Linked DNA regions of Homo sapiens: region 1 is linked to region 2. The links are contacts of gene promoters, found by promoter capture Hi-C in blood cells and fetal thymus (Javierre and others, 2016). All regions are on one chromosome and are shown on one strand. Each heading gives the region's core, a stretch centred on a gene start or on the middle of the fragment in contact. The rest is flanking DNA. Distances are from core to core; before and after follow the strand shown.

What was found. Contacts are between HindIII fragments. The CHiCAGO score rates a contact against its expected background, and 5 or more counts as called.
Region 1: a contact is called between a fragment that was not itself captured here and the fragment with the promoter of WNT11 in region 2, in 8 of 17 cell types (non-activated CD4 T cells, naive CD8 T cells, naive CD4 T cells and 5 more). The highest score is 8.5, in non-activated CD4 T cells.

What each region holds. Positions count from the first base shown.
Region 1 is chr11:76,328,965-76,333,078 of GRCh38, forward strand. No RefSeq gene overlaps it. Among named protein-coding and RNA genes, the nearest start is that of THAP12, 50 kb to the right of the region's middle. The HindIII fragment of the contact is 2,592 bases long and covers 373-2,964 here.
Region 2 is chr11:76,205,111-76,209,464 of GRCh38, forward strand. WNT11 (Wnt family member 11) reads right to left here and starts at 1,392. Exons shown (of 5, transcript NM_004626.3): 1 at 1,215-1,392. The coding sequence starts at 1,297. RefSeq lists silencers at 1,305-1,544, 2,525-2,744 and enhancers at 1,849-2,516, 3,851-4,354, 4,136-4,185. The HindIII fragment of the contact is 7,460 bases long and covers 360-4,354 here.

The DNA.
Region 1 (4,114 bases), core at 419-2,918, 120 kb after region 2:
AGACCTCATTTAACAGCCCTCATCTGACAGAAGAGAAACATGCCCGGTGAAGGGCCCTTCTTGCTGACATTTCCAAGTAACACAAGGGACCAGGCAGGCGTCCCAAGCCCAGGTGTCTGATGGCTGCTCTTCTGCTGAGTGAGAGTCCCCCAGGACCCCGCTCCAGGGCCTGGGCTCACTACTCCATAAGCAGCCCCACTGCTTGCCGGCAGATCTGCAGCTTCCGCAGACACTTCCAGCTTTCAGTTCCTTGAACATTCCTGTCATTCCTTGGGCAAACCCACTCTACTCCACATTTCTTTGAACTTCCCCGACTTCCCTGACCCTCTGCGACTAGCTGTGTGACCCTGGGCAAGTTGCTCAACTTCTGCAAGCTTGAGCCTCCACATCATGAAAGCGAGAGAAGCATTACTGACCCCGAAGGGCTGCTGTGAGGCCCACAGCTCCAGCTGAGAAAGTGCATGATAAAGTCAACATGATGGGACCTTCACTCTGTGCCAGACATGTGCAAGACAGGGTTATGTCCTGCACAAAGCAGTGTAGGGGTTAAGCACAGATTAGATTCACAGGTGGGGCCAACCTGAGTTAGAATTCTAGCCCTACCACTGACTCACTGTGTAAACCTGGGCGAGTCCCCTTAGCCTTTCTAGGACTCTCTTTTCTTGTCTGTAAAATGGAGACAATAATACCTACTGTTGCTTAAAGGATGAAAAGGGAACCCCATAAACGAAGTGCCCTGCCCAATGCCCAGCATACAGCAGGTGCTCAGTGAAGGGCCACCTCCACGCACCTCCTTCTCCATGAAGTCCCCAGCAGGCTGGTCCTGCAGGTCCCCCAGTGATCTAGAGTCCCAAGTGTGAGCACTGGCCCCTGCTGCTTTGTAAGTCCTCTGCCCAAAGCTGTGGAGTCCTACTTGGGTCTAACTGGGAACACCAAAGTAAAGAGGAATGAGGGGGCCCCAGGATGGAGAGTTTGGAGTGGGGCTGCTGTGTAGGATGGCAGCCAGCAGGCCTGGCCCTGAACCCCAGGGCCACCACCTTTTTAAATCAGATCCTTCCCTCCAAGCAAGCAAACAATCTGGCTCTGGCGGAGGCCCTGGTCAAGCACAGCAGAACCTTTGTGAGCTCTTGACTCTCCCCCTGCCTCCCCACTTCATCCTTGTCATCGCCTGCAGGGAGCTCTGGGGGTGGTGCTTTGGGCAGGGGAGCAGCTGGTAGGCTGCTGGCTTAGCCTGATGTTAAAGGCCTGAGGGGCTGGTCTCACCCTCTAGCCACATCTCCCTCCAGCCCCCTCCTCCCCTCCCAGGCTGCCGCTTGGTCTTTGCAGGCATAGTTGTCTCTCCCTTTGATACTCTGGAGAGGTAGAACTGAAGTGGAGGCTAGGGCTGTGGAAGGGCAGGGAGAGGTCTTCGTTGCAAGAGAGGCCAGACTTGTCCTCACGCCCTTTGCTGTTCCTGGTGCGGAGCAATGCTTCACCTCCGCCCTGGCCAATTCTAAACCCTCAGACCCTAGTTTAAGTCTGTTGGCAGGGTAGCTGCAGCCCTGAGAGGTACTTTGCTCCTCCATACAAAGAGGTGAAACTCTCTAGACCCTCACAGGGCAGCTTTCTGTGCACCTCAGAGACTTGACGAGACTCCTGGGACTCCTGTCCTTGCCTTTCATGTGTGGCCATACCAGGTGCTTCATCACCACTCAGTAGAGCTTAGGCTCCAAGAACCTGCACTCTGAAACCTCTGTCTCTCCAAGATCTAACCTTGTACGAGTTATTGCTCAGAATCCTCCCGCTGCAGCCCGGACCCCTGGGTAGTCCCTCTTCATTCTTCAGGTCCAGCTGGGGAGGTGTCCCTGTAACACCTGCGCTTAGTACTGCCCTGCTTACCCATCACTGCCATGATGGCAGAGCCTCCGCCCGCCTCACTCACCGCTGGACCCCAGTGCCTGGGACAGGGCTGGGAACAAGGTAGGGGATCCAGAAACAAGTATTGTCTGCCTGGCCAAGGTCCCCCATCCCCTTCACTGTCAGCACCTGGACCCACCTTCCCTTCACTGACAAGGTGAGCATTATTACATGAAAAAAAAAAAAAAAAAAAGTCAGTCAAGTAACAAATGGAGAAAACATTTGGATGCAAGACACAAAATGCTAATTCCCCCTTGTTTTTGTAAAGCAATAAGAAAAATACTTTTGCTCATATTTTTTGTTTTTTTTGGAGACAGGGTCTCACTCTGTTGCTCAGGCTGGAGTGCAGTGGCATGATCACAGTTCATTGCAGCTTCAACCTTCCAGGCTCAGGTGATCCTCCCACCTCAGCCTCCTGAGTAGCCAGGACTACAGGCACGCACCACCACACCTGGCTAATTTTTTTTTTTTTTTTTTTTTGAGACAGAGTCTGTCGCCCAGGCTGGAGTGCAGTGTTGCGATCTCGGCTCACTGCAAGCTCCGCCTCCTGGGTTCACACCATTCTCCTGCCTCAGCCTCCCAAGTAGCTGGGACTACAGGCTCCCGCCACCATGCCCCGCTAATTTTTTGTATTTTTAGCAGAGACGGGGTTTCACCGTGTTAGCCAGGATGGTCTCGATCTCCTGGCCTTGTGATCCACCCACCTCAGCCTCCCAAAGTGCTGAGATTACAGGTGTGAGCCACCGCACCCAGCCATGCCTGGCTAATTTTTAAACTTTTTGTAGAGATAGGATCTCGCTATGTTGCCCAGGCTTATCTCGAACTTCTGGGCTCAAGTGATCCACCCACCGTGGCCTCCCAAAGTGCTGGGTTTACAGGCGTGAGCCGCCACACCTGGCCCATATTCTTTATCAAATTGAAAAAAACATTTTACAGAAAAGAGGAAACACACACATGATATATATATATACACACACATATAAATATATGTATATAATTTTTTTTTTGAGACAGGGTCTCACTTTGTCACCCAGGCTGGAGTGCAGTGGAACAATCATGACTAATTGAAGCTTTGACTTTCCAGATTCAAGCAATCCTCCTGCCTCAGCCTCCCTAGTAGCTGGGACTACAGGCATGTGCTACCACACCGGGTAGTTATTTTATTTTATTTTATTTTATTTTTGAGATGGAGTTTCGCTCTTGTCACTCAGGCTAGAGTGCAGTGACACAATCTCGGCTCACTGAAACCTCCACCTCCTGGGTTCAAGCGATTCTCCTGCCTCAGCCTCCTGAGTTGCTGGGATTACAGGTGCCCGCCACTACATCTGGCTAATTTTTGTATTTTTAGTAGGGACGGAGTTTTGCCATGTTGGCCAGGCTGGTCTTGAACTCCTGACCTCAAGTGATCCTCCTGCCTCCGCCTCCCAGAATGCTGGGATTACAGGCGTGAGCCACCACACCCCGCCTGGGTAGTAGTTTTAGTAGAGATAGCAGTCTCACCATGTTACCCAGCTGGTCTTGAACTCCTGGGCTCAAATTATCCTCCTGTCTCAGCCTCCTAAATTGCTGGGATTACAAGTGTGAGCCACCACACATGGCCCAACACTTTTATGTGTTTAAAAAGATGCTTAGTTAACTTCACTTATAATAAAAGAAAAATTAACTAAAATCGGTGAAATGTGCTTTTTGAGCTATGTCTCTCAGATTGGCTTAGACCAAATGGGCTATTTATGAGAGATCTACTTACATGTTTGCAGTAATGGGGAAAGATATTTGTTGCAGCATTGTTTAAAGCAGAGGTCAGCAACCTTTTTCTGTAAAGGATAGACAGTAACTATTTTAGGCTTGAGGACTATACAGTCTCTTGAACTCCTGGGCTCAAGTGATCTACCTGCCTCAGCCTCCCAAAGTGCTGGAATTACAGGCGTTGAGCCACCATACCCAGACTATATGGTCTCATTGTAGCTAATCCACAATGCTGCTGCAGCTCAAACGCAGTCATAAACAAACGTAAACGGATGGGTATGCCTGTGTTCCAATAAAATCTTATTTACAAATGTTGAAACTTAAATTTTGTATACTTTTCATGTGTCACAAAATATTATTTTTTCAAAATCATTTACAGGCTGCTTGTGGTGGCTCATGCCTATAATCCCAGCACTTTGGGATGCTGAGGCAGGAGGATCACTTGAGGCCAGCAGTTTGAGACCAGCCTGGC
Region 2 (4,354 bases), core at 142-2,641:
CTTCTTGTAAACAAGAAAGGCAGGAAGACGGGGTTCCCTCCTCGAATCGTCAATTAATCAATAACTTGGCCTGAGAAGGGGCAGGGCCAGTGACCTCCAGACTGTTTGCTGGCGGCGCAGCCACTATCACCCTGTCTTCCAACTAATTCACAAACCCTTTGCAGCGCCCTCCCCAGCCCCCACAACCTGCCCCCTGCTGTCTTATCTGCAGGCTCCCTGCCCTGGCCCCAGATTCCAGACCCTTGTCCTGTCCTGGACTTTCCCTCTCAGGGAGCCCCTCTGCCCACAGCGTCCTCTCCATTGCCCGAACCAGCCAACTCCCAGCAGCGCTTCAGTCACCAGAGGCACAGCCTCGGAAAAGCTTCCCGGTGTCTCACATCTGTGTCCCCACCAGGTGGGCTTCCTTCCTCTAGGCCTCCAGATTCCCGCTCTGGTTTCTCCTCGGGCACTTGGACACTTGTGGAGTTATTTACAGCCTGGGCTTATCTCTCTCAACTTAGAGCGCAGCTCCTCCGGGAAGGGGCTGGTGTTTACTCCTCTCTTCACCACCCCCAGCCCCCTGAGCAGGCACTCCCTTCAGCTCGGCACCAAGCCTCTCTCTCCCTCCTACCCCTGCGTGAATAATTTCTATCTAAAGGAATGCCCTGCACATGTGCACAGTGGCATCTGACAGCTTCTGAGGTCCTTTCAGGAGCCTCTTCTCATCTGATTTGAGGGAGGTGGGGAGTCTCACCCTCCCGTGACAGAGGAGGACAAGGAGGCCCCAAGAAGTAGAGTGACACTTTCCCAAGGTCGCCCAGGTGGAGGGGTCAGGAGTGTCTCAGCGGAACTCCCGCTAGGGTCAAGGAGACTGACGGACAAGGACCGCTCCTGGGCTGGCCGCTCTGGATTGCGCCCCCTGAACAGAATGTCTTTTTCCATCTGCCCCTGCGGAGGTGGCCAGAAACTCCGTGGCCCTTGCGCCACCGTCAGCTGCACAGGACCAGGCGCTTCCATTGTGGTCCACGCCCGTCTCACTCCCTTTTCGCAAGCCTGCGGGAGGCAGGGACATTTTACAGAGGAGGAAACAGAGGCTGAGGGATGACTTGCCCACGACCGCCAAGCCAGCTTAGGCTCCCGGGTCTTGGTGCGCTCGCCCCATCCAGGGGACCCCAAAACGCCCTCCGCCGCCCCAGTCCCTGGCCTGTGCGCGTGGACGCGGGGTCCCTACTCACAGCCACTTGATGCCATAGCACACGCCGGTCTGGAGCGCCAGGGCGAAGAGCAGCGCCTCGCAGACCTGCGGCCGCGCCCTCATCGTCGCGCGGCGGGCGCGCCCGGGGTCACACCCAGGAGGAGCCGCGCCGAAGTCCTCCGCCTGCACGGCCGCCGCTGGTCCTGCACGCCGCCTGCAGCCGGGGAGAGCGGAGGCGGCGGGTTAAGGCGGCGCGCGGGCGGGGGAGGCGTTTTATTCAAATTACAAAGGAGGGGTCGGGGCCCGGGGAGGCCGAGCGCGGCGGGCGTCCCCTCCCGCTCCGCCCGGCCGGGGGACGCGTCCCGCGCCTGGCTCGAATTAGGCGCGGCCGAAGGCGTGTCTCCCAGCGTGGCCCCGGGCCCCAACGCGCCTTCGAGCCCCTCTGGCCGGGGCAGCCGGAAGGAGGGACAGGAGGCGGCAGAACCGGAGACCCAGGAGAGACCGGGCAGACACAGCGAGAGGGAGAAGGACGCTCAGAGGACAAGGCTGAGAGCCACGGAGACAGAGGGGGAAACCCGGACAGACGCAACCTGGGACGGAAAGGAGAGGAATGAGGAATCAGGAGTCCAGGCGAGGCAGCAGAGTCGAGGACCCGGAGCTGGGGCTTATCCCTGCAATATTGAGCATTAGTTAATAGGGCCTCGGCAATTCTCCTTCCCAAACGTGTTTCAGTTTACCTCCTCAGTAAGCTGGGGCAATTCGGGCACAATTCCGCTTTTATAAAGAACGTTCCCTGGCCGGGCAGGGTGGCTCACGCCTGTAATCCCAGCACTTTGGGAGGTCGAGGCGGGCGGGTCACCTGAGGTCAGGAGCTCGAGACCAGCCTGCCCAACATGGCAAAACCCCGTCTCTACTACGAATACAAAAAATTAGCCGGGCGTGGTGGCGGGCGCCTGTAATCCCAGCTACTCGGGAGGCTGAGGCAGGAGAACCGCTTGAACCCGGGAGGCGGAGGTTGCAGCGAGCGGAGATTGCGCCACTGCACTCTAGCCTGGGCGACAAGAGCGAAACTCCGTCTCAAACAAACAGACAAACAAAAAAAGTTCCCTAACACGATCGCATCTGCTCCTCCCAGCACCCCGTGAGATAGGCACTATCGCTGCCTCATCTCACAGATGAGGAAACTGAGGCACAGAGGTGGGGTTCAGCTAGGGAGCGGCAAGCCGGGTGTCCGGCGAAATCAGGAAATGGGGCTTGCTCGGGGCCCTGCTTTCTCGGTGTGGGAAGGGGAGGATGGGAAACGGGATGGTAGGGCTCTTTGTACAGTGAGGATTCCGAGTCTCCAAGTCCGTCTTTAGCCGCTCCACTTTGGAGGGTGGGAGTGGAAGCATGCGGGCTGGGACTGGGCAGCCCCGCCTTAGCGAAGCGGGGAAGCTCGCGGGGCTGGCGCGGTGTTGCCTCTGGCCTCCAGGCGGCGCCCTCGGGCCGCGGAGGAGAGGCTGCCCCGCCCGCCCGCAGCCCGCGGAGCAGCTATCTCCGCTTTTTTTCTCCTTCACTTCATTCTCACCTCATTAACTCCCTTCCCAGCTTCTCCCAAATTTACCAACACCTGGCGTTCGCCCGGAGTCAGACACAGCCCCAGCCCCTCTCCCCTCGGGAGGAGCAGAGACAAAGGGATTCCTTTCTAAGGGTTTGGGGAGTTGGAAAAGGAGGCGCCCACGGTAGTGGGGGCGCTGGAGCAGAAAAGGGACGTTCTTATCTGGCTCTGTGAGCTTGGGCAAGCCCTCAGCCACCCCAGCCTCGGTGTCCCCTTCCATAAGAACGAGGAATGGGGCTTCGCCGTGCGTCCCCCGAGGACCCCGTCTCCCTGCAGCCTGCGGGGCTCAGCGCCCCTCTGCTATTTGCACCGCGACGCCACCTGCGTGGCGCGTTCCTGCGCGTGGGTAGTCAGCACGCAGAGATGGGAAGCCCCACTGTTTTCTGGAGCCTGTCGGCAAAACCCACAGGAAGGCGAGGAGAAGCCTGGATCGTACAGTTTTTTTCCTCCGCAGAGCCCCGCAGCTAGCGCCCAGCACAGGGGCGCCTGCGACAAACATGCCGTCAAGGCTGGGGGTCTCAGAGGGGTTCTCGGTGTAACCCAGTCCCGTCCTCCCACCCAGCCTGTATCCAAATCCTTTGTCTTCCTGGTCCTGCAAGTTTCTTGCACTTCTCAGAACGAGAAAAATATCCGCTGGATATGGAGGGGGGAATCAAAACTCCAGTCACCGTCTTCCCCTCTCCCAAAGTGCGCCGCCCCCCGAAGGCACCCGGCATTCCTGGGTGGGGAGGGGGCGGGGGCTGCAAGAGGACGGAGGCGCGCGGACTCACAGCGGGGGATCTGTGTCCAGCCTGGTCTCCCAGGGAGAGGAGGAGCCCCCTAGGTCGCACAGCGGACGGGGACCCAGGCCTCCAGCCCCGCCCAGCTCTTTCGGTGCAGCCCCGGCTGTCCCAAGGCTCTCCCTCCGCCGCCCAAGCTCGTCGCGCGGGGAGGCAGCGCCTGGCCCGAGCCTCTGGGTCCTGACGGACTGTTCCTGTCCCTTGTACGAGCGCCCGGGACAGCCGCGCAGGCCACGGGGTCACCTTCCGCCTGAGCTCGCGGGTCAGGGTGCACGCGCCTCCTGAAGCCCCCAGCCCGCCAGGGGGCGCTAAGCCGGGGCTCGAGGAGGGGGGAATCGCGGCTGCCTCCTGCGTCGCGGGCTGGGGTCAAGTCCTCTTCCTGGGCCCCCGCTTCTCCGTCTGGGGATGGGACGACGTGTCGAGGGAGTGCCCCCTGTGTCCTGGTCGTTCTATAGGACACTTGCCGTGGGCCGCCCTGACCTGCCCGGCCCCTTGCTTGGGGCCGGGCGCGTAGTGGGCCGCGCCAGGCGTAGCACCTTTGGAGAGCGAGCGGTCACCTCCTCGAAGTTGGTCCGAGCTACCCTGCCTGCAGCGGGCCCGGGAGGCGGCCGCCTGGGGCTGTGCACAGGGAGAACACCACGAGCGCAGCGCCGCAGCCCAGCGCCGCCAACAGATGGTCATAGGCCCGGTCTGTGGAGGACTCTGGAAAGCCGGCCGCTGGGACCAGGCCACGCCGGCCCGGCGAGGACTTGCGGGGTCCCCCCTACCCCGACGCCCCACGGGCACCGTGCACCGGGGCCGATT